4 separate regions of the Homo sapiens genome follow, and regions 1, 2 and 4 are each linked to region 3. Evidence: promoter capture Hi-C in 16 types of primary human blood cells and fetal thymus (Javierre and others, 2016). All regions are on one chromosome and are shown on one strand. Each heading gives the region's core, a stretch centred on a gene start or on the middle of the fragment in contact. The rest is flanking DNA. Distances are from core to core; before and after follow the strand shown.

The links. Contacts are between HindIII fragments. The CHiCAGO score rates a contact against its expected background, and 5 or more counts as called.
Region 1: a contact is called between a fragment that was not itself captured here and the fragment with the promoter of OR4C15 in region 3, in 7 of 17 cell types (endothelial precursors, megakaryocytes, erythroblasts and 4 more). The highest score is 12.5, in endothelial precursors.
Region 2: the fragment with the promoter of OR8K5 here is called in contact with the fragment with the promoter of OR4C15 in region 3 in 12 of 17 cell types (total CD4 T cells, naive B cells, M2 macrophages and 9 more); the score reaches 9.6 in total CD4 T cells.
Region 4: a contact is called between the fragment with the promoter of OR5T2 here and the fragment with the promoter of OR4C15 in region 3, in 8 of 17 cell types (activated CD4 T cells, neutrophils, M2 macrophages and 5 more). The highest score is 7.8, in activated CD4 T cells.

What each region holds. Positions count from the first base shown.
Region 1 is chr11:54,751,242-54,755,250 of GRCh38, reverse strand. No RefSeq gene overlaps it. Among named protein-coding and RNA genes, the nearest start is that of OR4A5, 46 kb to the right of the region's middle. The HindIII fragment of the contact is 844 bases long and covers 1,998-2,841 here.
Region 2 is chr11:56,157,959-56,161,807 of GRCh38, reverse strand. It overlaps OR8K5 (olfactory receptor family 8 subfamily K member 5), which reads left to right and starts at 1,491. Exons shown (of 1, transcript NM_001004058.2): 1 at 1,491-2,414. The coding sequence starts at 1,491. The coding sequence ends at 2,414. The HindIII fragment of the contact is 6,274 bases long and covers 529-3,849 here.
Region 3 is chr11:55,552,293-55,555,900 of GRCh38, reverse strand. It overlaps OR4C15 (olfactory receptor family 4 subfamily C member 15), which reads right to left and starts at 1,432. Exons shown (of 1, transcript NM_001001920.3): 1 at 482-1,432. The coding sequence starts at 1,432. The coding sequence ends at 482. The HindIII fragment of the contact is 1,344 bases long and covers 1,421-2,764 here.
Region 4 is chr11:56,232,802-56,236,897 of GRCh38, reverse strand. It overlaps OR5T2 (olfactory receptor family 5 subfamily T member 2), which reads left to right and starts at 2,643. Exons shown (of 2, transcript NM_001004746.4): 1 at 2,643-2,721; 2 at 3,634-4,096. The coding sequence starts at 3,836. The HindIII fragment of the contact is 5,726 bases long and covers 1-4,096 here.

The sequences.
Region 1 (4,009 bases), core at 1,170-3,669, 800 kb after region 3:
ATGCTTTTGCAAATAGTACAGAAAATGTGATTCAAAACTGCTGAATCAAAAGAATCCTTTAACTCTAGATATGAATGGAAACATCACAAAGCATTTTCTCAGATAGCTTTTTACTATTTTTTATCATGGGATATTCACTCTTTTGCCATTGGCTTCAATGAGCTTCGAAATGTCCAATTGCAGAATGGGCAAAAACTGTGTTTATAAATTCCTGAATCATAAGAATGGTTGAACACTATAAGATGAAAACACACATTACACAGCAGTTTCTCATAAAGCTTCTTTCTACTTTTTATCAGAAGATATTTACTTTTTCACCATAGGCCTTGAGACACTCCAAAATATCCTTTCACAGAATTTAAAAATCAGTGTTTCCAAACTACTGAGTCAAAAGAAAGATTTAACTCTGTGAGATGAATAAACACGTCACAAAGGAGTTTCTCACATAGATTCCTTCTAGTTTTTATCTTTGGATATTCATTTTTTTGCATTGGATCCAATTAGCTCCCAAATATCCATTTGCAGAATGTACAAAAACAGTGTTTCCAAATTCCGGAATCAAAACAAAGTTTGAACTGTGAGAGATGAATGCACACATCACAAAGCAGTTTCTCAGAAAGCTTCTTTCTAGTTTTTATCTGATGATATTTTCTTTTTCACCATAGGCCTCAGCTGGCTCCCTAGTGTCCTTTCACAGATTCTAGAAAAGCAGTGTTTCCAAACAGCTGAATCAAGAGAAAAGTTGAACTCTGTGATATGAATGCACACATCATAAACTGGTTTCTTGGATAGCTTCCTTCTACTTTTCACCCTGCAATATTCGCTTTTTTGACTTTGGCCTCAAAGAGCTCACAAATGTCCATTTGCAGATTCTACAAACACAATGTTTCCAATGTGTGGAATCAGGAGAAAGGTTTAACACTGTGAGATAAATGCACACATCATGAAGCAGTTTCTCAGAAAGCTTCTTTCTACTTTTTATCTGAAGATTTTTCTTTTTCAAGATAGGCCTCAATGGGCTCCCAATTGTCCATTCACAGATTCTTCAAAAACACTGTTTCCAAATTGCTGAATCAAAACCAAGTTTAACCCTGTGACATAAATGCACACATCACAAAGCAGTTTCTCAGAAACTTCTTTCAAGTTTTTATCTGAAGGTATTTTCTTTTTCACCATAGGCCTCACTGTGCTCCAAATGTCCTTTTCAGATTCTACAGCAAAGTTTTTCCAAACTTCTGAATCAAAAGAAAGGTTTACCTCTGTGAGATGAATGCACATATCACAAAGCAGTTTCTCAGAAAGCTTCTTTCTAATTTTTCTCAGAAAATATTTTCTTTTTCACCATAGGCTTCAATGCTCTCAAAGATGTCCAATTGAAGAATGTACAAAACACCATTTCCAAACTGCAGAATCAAAAGGAAGGTTTAACTCTGTGAGATGAATGCACATATCAGAAATTGGTTTCTCAGAAAGCTCCTTTCTAGTTTTTATCTGAGGATATATGTTTTTTGACAATAGTCTTCAATGTGCTCCCAAATATCCCTTCACATATTCCACAAAAACAGTGTTTCCAACCTGCTGAATAAACAGAAAGTTTTATCTGTGTGAGTTTAATGCACACGTCACAAAGCAGTTCCTCAGAAAGCTTCTTTCTAGTTTTTATCTGAAGACATTTTCTTTTTCACCACAGGCCTCAATGAGCTCCCAAATATTCCTTTGCAGTTTCTAAAAAACAGTGTTTCCAAATGACTGAATGAAAAGAAAAGTTTGTCTCTATGAGATGAATGGACATATCACAAAGCCTTGTCTCAGATAGCTTCCTTCAACTTTTTATCCTGAGATATTCACTTTTTCATCATTGGCCTCTAAGAGCTCCCAAATATCCATTCCCAAAATGGACAAAAACAGTGCTTCCAAACTGCTGAATCAAAAGAAAGTTTTAACTCTGTGAGATGAATGCACACATCAAAAAGCATTTTCTCTGAAAGCTTCTTTCAAGCTTTTTTCTGAAGATATTTTCATTTTTACCATAGGTCTCAATGTGCTCCCAAACATACCTTTGCAGATTGTAGAAAAACAGTTCATTCCAAATTGCTGAGTCAAAAGAAAGTTTAACTGTGTGATTTGAATGCACACTTCACAAAGCAGTTACTCAGAAAGCCTCTTTCTTCTTTTAAAAGAAGGTATTTTTTTGCACCATGGGCCTCAAGGGGCTACCAAGTGTCCATTCACACAAAGTACAAAAACTGTGTTTCCAAACTGCTTAATCAAAAGAAAGGTTTAAATCTGCAAGATGAAGTCACACATCACAAATGGTTTCTCAGATAGTTTCCTTCTAGTTTATATCTCGGGATATTTGCTTTTTTGCCTTTGGCCTCAATGAGCTCCCAAATATCCATTCACAGAATGGACAAAAACAGTGGTTCTTAAACTGCTGAATGAAAAGAAAGGCTTAATTCTGTGAGATGAATGCACACAACACAAACAGTTTTTCAGAGAGCTTCTTTCTAGTTATTATCAGAGGACATTTTCTTTTTCACAACAGGCCACAATGCATTCCCAAATATCCCTTCGCAGATTCTACAAAAACAATGTTTCCAAACAGCTGAATGAAAAGAGAAGTTTAACTTTGTGAGATGAATGCAGATATCACAAAGCAGTTTCTCAGATAGCTTTATTTCGTTTTCATCTTGGCATATTCACTTTTTTGCCATTGGCCTCCATCAGCTCCCAAATGTCCACTCACAGAATGGACAAAAACAGTGTTTTCAAACTGCTGAACCAAAAGAAATGTTTAACTCTGTGAGATGAATACAAACGTCACAGAACAGTTTCTCAGAAAGCTTCTTTCTAGTTTTTATCTGAATATCCCTTCTCAGATTCAACAAAAGCAGTGTTTCCAACCTGCTGATTCAAAAGAAAAGTTTAACTGTACGTGATGAATGCACAGATCACAAAGCAGATTCACAGACAGCTTCCTGCCAGTTTTTTTCCTGACATATGTGCTTTTTTGCCATTGGCCTCAATGAGCTCTGAAAAGTACATTTGCAGAATGGACAAAAACAGTGTTTCGAAATTGCTAAATCAATAAAAGGTTTAACTTTGTGAGATTAATGCACCCATCACAAAGCAGTTTCTCAGAAAGCTTCTTTCTATGTTTTATCTGAAGATATTTTCTTTTTTACCATATGCCTCGACGTGCTCTCAAATATCCCTTCACAGGTTCTACAAAAACAGTGTTTCCAAACTGCTGAATGAAAAGAATGATTTAACTCTGACAGGTGAATGCATACATCTCAAAGGAGTTTCTCAGATAGTTTCATTCTAGTTTTTATCTGAAGATATTTTCCTTTTACACGATAGGCCTCCAGCACTCCAAAGTGTTCGTTGGTAGAATGGAGAAAAACAGTGTTTCCAAACTGCTGAATCAAAGGAAGGTTTAACTGTGAGATGAATGTACACATCACAAAGCCGTTTTTCTAGTATTTACATGAAGATATTTTCTTTTTCACCAAAGGCCTCAATGCCCTCCCAAATATTGCTTTGCAGATTGCACAAAAACAGTGTTTCCAAACTGCTGAATGAAAACAAAGGTTTACCTGTGTGAGCTGAACGCACACAGCACAAAACAGTTTATCAGAAAGCTGATTCCTCCTTTTAATCTGAAGATTTTTTTTCACCATATGCCTCAATACGCACCCAAAAGTCCATTTGTAGATCCTACAGAAACAGCGGTTCCCAATTGCTGAATCAAAAGAAAGTTTTAACTCTGTGAGATTAATGCACACATCATAAAGTGGTTTCTCAGATAGCTTCCTCCTAGTTTATACCTCGGGATATTCACTTTTTTGCCATTGGTCTCAATGAGCTCCCAAATACCCATTCACAGAATGGACAAAAACAGTGTTTCCAAACTGCTGAATCAAAGGAAAAGTTTAGCACTCTGAGATGAATGCACACATAACAAAGCAGATTATCAGAAAGCTTCATTCTTGTTTTCATTGGAAGA
Region 2 (3,849 bases), core at 242-2,741, 610 kb before region 3:
GGTGGGTTTTCAGAGTTTTCTACCTGAGGGATGTGCAGGCTAAAGCTGACATTCCATTACATTATAATAAATCTATTCTACATTAGATCTGTGGAAAATTCCGTTACTATTCCAATTGAAAGTCACTCTCACAGAGTTCCAGATTTTCAATGAGTGGAAACTGAAGGAGAGGGGAATTTAAGTGGAATAGGCTAAGACATCTTCACTATCTGTATCAGGGACGTTCCACTTTCTTTTATTGACTTCCCGTGTATTTTTTAAATAAAGGGAGAAGTACTTTTCATTGAAATAGTTTTAATTACAGTATTATATCTCCATGAATACTCCACTGTACAATTCCAGAAAAAAAGTCATTCACTAATATATGATGTCCTAAATTCTCAAATTATTTAAATGATTTATAGAACCTACCATCTTCACAGTGTTTTATTACAGAAAATAAAGTACATATAATTAAATAGTCATCACTGAATATTGATTTAAATCATGTTTTTGCAGAAGTGGATCCAGATTATGTGTCTTGAAGCTTAGAAGAATTTGACTTTTTAGATAAAATTACACATACAAGTTGAAAGATAAATGGGAATATTTATTTAGAATAGAAAATTAGCTTTAAATTGTAATTAGTAAACAAACCCATGGCCACAAACTATATAAAATTTATTAATATAGTATGTTAATTAATCAAATGCCAAATGCATCTCAGCATACAGGTGGCAAGAGTATCCTTAGAAGACATTCTTAAGTCAGAATAGGTAGTATTATTCAGTGATAAATATCATAGTGTCTGAATGATATAAACATATCCATTGAACATCAAATAAACTATTATTAACTCAATCCTTCTTTAGCTAGATCCCACAATGCTTGCAGAAATGTCAAGTCACTATGATATTAGTTGAAGTGTGATATACTAGAAGTTGGAATGAAAACAGAAAGCAGCCTTAATTGATCATGATTATTATATCTTACATTTGAAATTTTACAAAGATATATCATTTTTGCGTGCATTCGTAAGTCCCCACACAAGACCCTGGAAGTGCAAATGAGGGACCCCAAATCTTAACCTTCATTATCTTATTGCCATCTCTACCTCTGTCTTTGAGAATATCAAAATTACAGAAAAGTTTTACAACAAAAGTGGAAGTGAACAAAAGAAAATCATGATACCATTGTGCAGATGAAAAGAGCATAATCTTTTTGTAATAATACCTATATGGCTGTGTTATTAACCGATATACTTCAAATATTGATGAAACTATTTAATCTATGTTGTTTCAGTGCATGTATTTTACATGAATTCCTCTTTTAGGAAAGTAGAAAATTTTGCTTTATATTTCATTTCTGAATCAAATGTAGAAATAATGTTTCTATTATCTATTGTGAATAACAATCTATTCTGTCTACAAATATTATAATTTGTTTAAATAGCACTACATGGAACAGCTAATAACCCAACTGTTTCTTCCTAGAAGAGATAACTGGACTAAATGGGCCAACACAATCTAACAGTGCTAACTGAATTCATTCTGATGGAACTCACAAGGCGGCCTGAGCTGCAGATTCCCCTTTTTGGAGTCTTCCTCGTCATCTACCTAATCACAGTGGTGGGCAACCTAACTATGATCATTTTGACCAAACTGGACTCCCACTTACATACACCTATGTACTTTTCTATCAGACATTTGGCTTTTGTTGATCTTGGTAATTCTACTGTCATTTGTCCCAAGGTGCTGGCAAATTTTGTTGTGGATCGAAATACTATTTCCTATTATGCATGTGCTGCACAGCTGGCATTCTTCCTTATGTTCATTATCAGTGAATTTTTCATCCTGTCAGCCATGGCCTATGACCGCTATGTGGCCATTTGTAACCCTCTGCTCTATTATGTTATTATGTCTCAGCGACTGTGTCATGTACTGGTGGGCATTCAATATCTCTACAGCACATTTCAGGCTCTGATGTTCACTATTAAGATTTTTACATTGACCTTCTGTGGCTCTAATGTCATCAGTCATTTTTACTGTGATGATGTTCCTTTGCTACCTATGCTTTGCTCAAATGCACAGGAAATAGAATTGTTGAGCATACTATTTTCTGTATTTAATTTGATCTCCTCCTTTCTGATAGTCTTAGTGTCCTACATGTTGATTTTGTTAGCTATATGTCAAATGCATTCTGCAGAGGGCAGGAAAAAGGCTTTCTCCACATGTGGTTCCCATTTGACAGTGGTGGTTGTGTTCTATGGGTCTCTACTCTTCATGTACATGCAGCCCAATTCCACTCACTTCTTTGATACTGATAAAATGGCTTCTGTGTTTTACACTTTAGTAATCCCCATGCTTAACCCTTTGATTTACAGCTTAAGAAACGAAGAGGTGAAAAATGCCTTCTATAAGCTCTTTGAGAATTGATGTCAACTTTGTGTTTAATAATCAATTTGTAATATTGTTATAATAAATATATAATATAGATTAATGTCACTTGATAATTTTTCATGTGTATATAAATTTTCCAATTTTCAAATTTTTTTAATTGTTTTTTATTTCAATAATTTTTGGGAAGTAGGAGGTTTCTGGTTATGTGAATAAGTTCATTGGGGTAATTTCTGAGGTTTTGGTGCACTCATCACCTGAGCAGTGTACACTGTACTCAATGTGTAGCCTTTTATCCCTCGCCCACACTGCACACTTTTCCCTGTGTCCCCAAAATACATTATGTCATTCTTACCTATTTGTATCCTCATAGTTTAGCTCCCACTTATAAGTGAGAACATATGATATTTGGTTTTCCATTCCTGAGTTACTTCACTTAGAATAAAGGTCTCCAGCTCCATCCAGGTTGCTGTGAATGCCATTATTTTGTTCCTTTTTATAAGTGAGTAGTATTCCATCATATATATATATACATATATATATATATACACACACACACACATATATATAGATAAAGAAAACGTGATATCTATATATATCATTTGATATATATATGGTATATATAAAGAAAATGTGATATGTATATCATATTCTGGTTATATGAGTCCACTTTTTGTCATATATATATCACATTTTCTTTATATATATCAGATTTTCAATGAGTAATCAGATTTTCGGATTTCATGAGATATATATGTGTGTGTGTGTGTGTGTGTATATATATATATATAGATCTCACATTTTCTTTATCCACTAGTTGGTTGATGGACATTTAGGCTGGTTACATACTACTGCAATTGCTAATTTCCCTGCTCTAAACATGGATGTGCAAGTGTCTTTTTCACATAATGACTTCTTTTCCACTGGGTAGATACCCAGGAGTGGGATTGCTGGATCAAGTGAAAGTTCTACTTTTACTTATTTAAAAAATCTCCATACTGTTTTCCAAAGTGGTTGTACCAGTTTACACTCCTACCAGCAGTGTGAAAGTGTTCCCTTTTCACCACATTCATGCCAACACTTTTTTTTTATTTTTAAATTATGGTCATTCTTGCAGGAGTAAGGTAATCTCATTGTGGTTTGATTTGCATTTTCCAGATACTTAGTGATGTTGAGCATTTTTAAATATTTTTTTGGTCATAAGTATATCTTCTTTTGGAGTTGTCTATTCATGACCTTTGTCCACTTTTTGATGGGATTATTTGTTCACTTCTTGCTGATTTGCTTGATTTACTTGTAGATTCTGGATATTAGTCCATTGTTGAATGTTGTAGTCCGAAAGAGTGAGGGTTGTGATCAACTCAGTATACCACTGGAGGCTATATGAGTAAACAGCAAACTATTCTCGTAAATGCAGAATGTTGGCAAAATGACAAACTATGTCTGATGCCCAGAAGGAATGCTGAGGGTAGTC
Region 3 (3,608 bases), core at 183-2,682:
ATAGAGGGAGAAAGGTTTGGTGAGGTCTGGGAGAGTGAGAATGGGGGCTGATGTGAGAGCCTTCTGGAGGATGGAAATGTTGGGTAATAGGCTGTGTGGGGTTTAAAGGCTCATGGAGAGGGCCTTTAGCCGCCTGGTATAACGGTTTGGCAAGTAGAGTGAAGGAGGGAACCCAGAGCCTAAAATAAACCACTAGTCCTAGAAAAGAGAGAATGTCTTGCTTAGTTTGCAGAGGTGGAAGGGAGTGGAGGTGCAATATGCAGTTGGTTGTGAGCCCTTGGAGTCACGGGGTAAGACTAGGCCTATATAGGTGACTGAGGAGGTGCATATTTGTGCTTTCTGAGGGTGGACACATAAGTTTTCTGATCCCACATTAATGATTTTTTTCTAGCATTACTTTATCTCTTGCCATGAAAGATGTATCTCATTAAGTTTTTATTTAAGGCCATTTTGACCTTTTTTACTCTTAACTTTGGATTTTTTAAAGTTTAATATTTTCTTTCTCATCAGAAACCACCATCAGTCTGTTCCATATTCTCCTCATGGCCTGTTTTACTTCCTTATTCCTGAAAGTGTAAATCAAAGGATTGAGCAAGGGATTTAAGATGATATAAAATATTGCCGCCATTTTGTCAAGGGAAAAAGCAGATGGAGGTCGTGTATATACAAATATGCATGGGACAAAGAACAAAATCACAACAGCAATGTGAGATCCACAGGTGGAGAGAGCTTTCCAGCGCCCTTCAGAACTGTGTGTTCTCAGAGAGAGCAAGATGACAGCATAGGAGACAAGCAACAAGGAGAAGTTTATGATGCAGATAAACCCACTGTTGATGACCACCATGAGGCCAAAGATGTGAGTATCAGTGCAGGCAAGCTCCAGTAACGGGTACAAGTCACACATAAAGTGATTGATGACATTGGGGCCACAAAAGGGAAGCTGGAAAGTAAAAAGAATTTGTATCATGGAATGCAAGAGGCCCCCTGTCCAGGCTACCCCCATCAGAATGCCACAGAGCCTCCTGTTCATGATAGAAGAGTAATGCAAGGGCTTGCAAATGGCCACATAACGATCATAGGCCATGGCTGTGAGGACAATCACCTCCACCCCAGCAAAGAAGTGTTCAGCAAAGAGCTGCATCATGCAGCCTTCAAAAGAGATGGTTTTTGTCACATAGAGGGAGTCTACAATCATCTTTGGGGTGATGACAGATGAGAAGCACGCATCCAGGAAGGACAGGAAGCCCAAGAAGAAGTACATAGGAGACACCAGAAGAGCAGGGCTGCTGAGAATGGTTACTACAATTAGCATGTTGCCCCCAACAGTTGCAATGTAGACAAACAAAAATACAACAAATACTATTTCCTGAACATTTGGATTCTGTGAAAGTCCCAGGAGGACAAACTCAGTTACAAAGCTTTGGTTTTGCATGTTTCCCAAGGAAAAGATGAAAGCTCCAACAGGGATCATGTATAGTCTGCAATTAGGACAAAGGAAAATTTGCTTCAGATCAATTTGTGGTATCATAGTCATTAACAAGTTGGTACATCCAAGTGCAAAATTATTGAGTGCTTCTGTTGTCATTGAGAACATAAATTAGAAATTATTGAAGGTAGTACTGAAATATCAGACAGAATTGTGATAGAGATAATTTAAAGAATACTTGAAAGAAACAAGAGGTTCAATATGGGGGAAGGATATGTGGTAGAGAAGAGAAAGAGTTTTCATATCAAGTGCCAGCTTTGATCATTTACTAGTGGCTTCCTGGAGTGAATTATTGAGAAGTATTCTGAAGTTACCTCTAAATTTTGAGAGAAGGAGCATTGTAACTTATTACTTATTTCTGCCATTGGCATCAAATGAGAGCAGGGATGACCAGCATCCCATTCCTAATCGGGAGACTGCTTTATCTGCAACTAGAAGAAAACAGCGTATAGTTCAAGAGGCACTTAAAAATTATGGCTGCTCTTCAAATATTTCTTTAAAAGTCTTAACTGAATTCATTCTTTACAAAAGAGAAAGATCTTTAGAAAAATCTCTAGCCTGACATTTAAAACATAAAAAGTATGCATTAAGTGCGGAGTGTTTTCTTAAATCTGTCATTTTAAAATGAAAACAGAAGTTTATTATTATTATAAAAGTAATAATGCCTACAACAGAATGTTGTTATGATAACTGGTGAAACAATGGAAGGCTAAGGACCGACTGCCCTAGGGAATGGTCTGCATTAGGTCTTATTATTCCTATTTGATTGGTGGGAAACTCATGCTTAAAGAAGTTAAGTTTAAGCAAATAACAGACAATCTGGGATATTAACACAAAATCTCAGGCTCCAACACCCAATTCCTTTCCACTAGATCAGCAGGGAAAGGAGTGGGGATATTCCTTTTCCAGTAAGAACTTCAAAGTAGGAATGGCCTTTCTACAAACACTTGCATGTACAAATTGGCATCAACCACATAAGTAAGGAAGAGAAACAATATATTGAATATAAACCGGAATCTTGAGGCTTTATTAATTATTTTCCAATTATTTATATAAAGTAATCAGGTCTAATGAAGTTTAATTCCTAAAAGAAGTGTATATTTCAACTTTATATGCATTATTGTGTAGCAGAGGTGTTTATATATAGCTTACCTGCTCATGTCTCAGGATTATGATGATGGTCAGATTTGAAAATGTGAAAATTTTACTTATAATAAAGTGCTCTTACCAATTGTATTTACTCACTTAAAAAGTCAGCCACCTTATCTACAAAAAGCTTTTTCATGAGTCATCTAGATAATTACTCTCCAACTTTTGACTTCATTTCCACAGGCAGACACAGCTTTAAAGGATAATTCTGTCTTCACCTATATATATATAATTGAAATGTGTTTTTCAATTACCATATATAAGTGTGTGTTTGAATATTTGTATATGTGTATATTTATATGTGTATACACCTTTGTTAAAAAATAAGTGAATAAAAAAGAATAAAGAGATTTATTTTGAGATTTAAATAAGCTGATTTTTATGAATGTCACTTGGAGTTAACAGAAACAATTTAAAATGTTAATAAAACTAACAAATATACAATTGTGTATGTTAATATATGTTCTTTTGCTTATTTTAAAACAATCATTTCCATTATGTTTTCAGTTTCATTTGTAACCAGTGTCTGCACTAGGAATTCCATATACAGTTATAAGTTATCATCAGGAAAATATGAGCTGGAACAAACCTTATAAGGTTATTAGATAAGTCAATAACCATTTATTGCAAAGGAAAGCATGTTAGTAAATGATCCAACAGTGCTCAGCTTAGCCGAGAGCCAAAGTGGGAAATACGATGAAGTGAAATGAGTAAGAACTTCAGTTCCAGACTCATATAGACGTAGGTTCAAATCCAAGCTCTCCTACTTGTTCTATGGCATGTTAGAACAAGTCACTTCAAATTCTTAACATTCTCAAAGCCTCAGCTTCCACTTCAGTAAATGGATATGATGTCTATCTATACATATCTTGTGAGTATAAGAAAGCAATACACACAAAAGCACTGATGCAGTAAGAAGCATAGAAGATCATGATGAGTGGTGAGAACAAGCCCTCAGAGCCATTGACACAGA
Region 4 (4,096 bases), core at 1,394-3,893, 680 kb before region 3:
CATTGCAGTAAAGAAAAGAATGGAAAAATAAATATCATGTCATCTCATTCATAAGCTGGAGCTAAGCTATGAGGATGAAAATGCATGAGAATAAGCAAAAGAGATGAGGCTTGCCACACCATATGGGAGAGGGAGTTATTACTCAATTCAATCTCCTTGAAGGCTTGAAAGTTAGGTGCTTTTCAAAGATAGTTTGATGGGCAGAGGGCTAGGGTATGGGTGTTGCTGATCAGTTTAGGATGAATCATAGGGATGTGGAAAATGATCCTCATGTGTTGAGTGTGTTTCTGGGTGGGGGCCACATGACTGTTTGAGTCAGAGGTCCAGGTGGGGCCATCCAGCTATCAGATATACAAATATTTGAAAAGAATCTCAAAATGCCAATCTTAGGTTCTACAATAGCTATGTTATCTGCAGGAATAATTGGGGAAGCTGCAAATCTTGTGACTTCCAGGAAAAAATGGCTGGTAATCATTTTACTAGGCCTATATCTTAGCAGAACACAGACTCCTCTCATCCTCTTAACTTGGTGCCTTTGATTAGTTTTACAAAGGTGGTTTAGTTTTTGCAAAGGACTATTATCATTTAAACTATAAACTAAATTTCTCCCGAAGTTATTTGGTCCATGCCCAGAGATGAGCAAAGACAGACAGCCTGTGATGATAGAAGCAAGAAGAAGTCAGTCATGGCAGATTTCTCTTACTGTCATAATTTTGCGAAGGTGGTTTCAGAATTTCAGGATTGTATAGTAATCCTGTTTTTAATGTTTCAAGGAACTTCCATACTATTTTCAATCATGGCTGCACTGTTTTATATTCTTGTCAACAGTACACCAGGGTTCCAATTTCTCCACATTCTTATCAATACTTTTTTTTTTTAAATAATGGCCATAACAGGTGTGTGATGATATCTCATTGTGGTTTTGATCTGCAATAATTAAAATCTCCATATTACCCAAAGGGGTCTTCAGATTTAATGCATTTCCTGCAAAATCCTAGTGCTGGGTTTTACAGAAATAGAAAAAACATCGTAAAAATTATGTGCAATTACAAAAGACTTCAAATAGCCAAAGGAATCTTGAGAAAGAAAAACAAAGCTAGAGGTATTATACTTTTTTATTTCAATGATATTACAAAACTACAGTAATTAAATAGCATGGGACTGGAATAAGGACAGATATATAGACCAACGGAACAGAATAGGGAGCCTGGAAACAATCCCACATGTATATAGTCAAATGATCTTTCACAAGTGTGCCAAGAATACACAATGGGAAATTAAATTGGACCCTTGTCTTATACCATATAAAATAACCAACCCAAAATGGATTAAAAATTTAAACATAAAACCTGAAACTACAATTTCTAGAAGAAAACATAAGGAAAAACTTTAGGACCTTCAGCTTGGCAGTAACTTGTTGGATGTAACATAAAAATACAAGCAATGACATAAAAAGCCAAGTAACAAAACCAAAATTAGACAAGTAGGGCTACGTCAAAGTCAAAATCTTCTGCACAATGAAGAAAACCATCAGCCAAACAAAAAATATTTGTAAATGATATATCTAATAGGGGATTAATATCAAAATATATAAATTCAATAGCCACAATAACAATAATCTTATTTTAAAACTGGCAAAGGACTTGAATACATTTTTTTTCCAAAGAAGACATACAAATGGCCTTCAGATGTATGAAAAGATGTTCAACATCAGTAGTCATCAGGGAAATTCAAATCTGACACATTTTAAACAGAAGCCAAAGAACTCTATTGATTCAATAAGTAGGAGCATGCAGTGCCTTATTCCGGAATCATTTACTTTTTATTATTAAGTAAATCATCATGGTGCTATTTTGAAACAGAAGATAATTGGGGCATATTCCCCTTGGGACATCTCCTTGGATTTCATCAACAGTCAATTACAAAGATATAAACAATCTAAGTTAGCCATATTCATAGAATACCTAAATCTGCATTTGCTGTTCCACAGGTAAGAGAAAATTTCAGATAATTTGAAGAATATTTCGGCAGCTAGAACCTACAATATCAAGAATAACTATGTTTTTTTTTACTAAACTTTTTAGCTGCTAAACACCAAGAACTAAACACTTCAGTTCTGGACTATTACATATGTGAATCAAGTGTATTCATCAAAATATGATTTATTTAGAGTTATGCCTAAGAATTAAAATCCAACACTTACTAGAAAACAATAAAAAATAGAAAATATTGTATTTGTACTTATAGAGATAAATAAGAGTGCTCCTAATAGAGTATATGCTTGTATTTTTCTTATAGATAAAGATAGTTCAAAGGTCATGAATTTACCAATAAATATCAACAAAGGGCAAAAAAACATTTGACTTATTCATTTATCTGGGGTCTTGTATTTTGAAGTAATAAGGAAAACAATCAATACTTATTTTAAATTTATTTTCTGGCTTTATAATCTAGAAGTCACTTCAGATTGCTACTTATTTTATGTTTCTCTAGATTTAATGGCTTAAAAAATACAAATACATCGAGAATCATGTTTTGCTTTACCTTTATTTCCCTGAGGTCAGCAGAGGGGTAAGAGGAAGAGTGTTCCAGTTGCAGAATGAAGCCATTTATGAGGCCATGAAAAAATGCAAAAATTTCATGTACAATGAGAGAAACCTGGGATTGAATCTTGGCTCTGGAAATTGTTAGCTATGAAAGTTGCTATAAAGGTGAAATAAGGTAATGTACAAGAAATGTCTGTTCTTGCAGCAAGTGCTAAATAAATGCCTGTTATTTAGCAAACTTAGTGTTTCGTTATTACATTCACGATATTTAAAGTTTTCTCCCTTCCATTAAAATTTGTTTCATAAAAATAGATTTGCATTAATTTAAAAAGTTGATTCTATATTATTAAATCTTCAAGAATCATAGTGATTTTCTCTTTATAACTCTGAATCTTTGACTATGTGCTAATATTAACTTAATTTTTACCCAATATAACTTATTTTGGCATCTAGTAGAAATGCCTGTCTCACAAGAAATTTGGTTGAAGTATCTTATTTGCACAAAGCAAAATTAAGACAATTGTAATGTAGAAAATGGAATCATGGTAATTTGCATGTTTATTTTTGGCATAAAATGATCAAGTAATTCACAAAACTTCTTCATTCTCCAAAGAATAATTCAGAGACATTTGAATGAGCAGATGAAAAAAATCATAACTGTTCATTGGATTTAATCTTGATAGAATGTAGAACCAACTTAATTCAGCATATTCTATAATCAAAATTATTTTACATATTATATTTTATTAATGCAATTTTCCTTCAATATTTACTCCAATCTTGTGAACAAACTATTAATGTTCTCATTCTATAGACAAGTAGATATAGCAAATCATTTTGCACAATTGCTACAAGTTCTAAAATTCTGGTATTGTATTCCAATGCTCTGTCCCCTGATACAGTCTCTTGTGTATTTGGATGCCCAAAGATTGTTTAAGCCACTCATTTTTGTGTGTTTTAATATTATTTAATATATAAACAGCTTAATACAATTCAGTGGTAAATTAACCAGTAGACCTGATGATTTTAGAAACAGAATAAGTCCAGCCAACTAATGAACGTCCATTTCTTCCATTTGATTCTGCAGTGAGTGGCATGAACACATGGCTGACCAGTTTGTCACTGTCTTCTGATTCACTACTAGAGAATTATGCACTGCTGAATATATGTCGTACAGTATATACAAGAGCACAGTTAACATCCCCTTGAGTCATGGTGTTGTTCATTCTTTTTGTCATAATATGAACTGTAACTTTATGCATATCTTCAAGTTTGTTCTAGATTTCAACATGAAGAATGTCACTGAAGTTACCTTATTTGTACTGAAGGGCTTCACAGACAATCTTGAACTGCAGACTATCTTCTTCTTCCTGTTTCTAGCAATCTACCTCTTCACTCTCATGGGAAATTTAGGACTGATTTTAGTGGTCATTAGGGATTCCCAGCTCCACAAACCCATGTACTATTTTCTGAGTATGTTGTCTTCTGTGGATGCCTGCTATTCCTCAGTTATTACCCCAAATATGTTAGTAGATTTTACGACAAAGAAT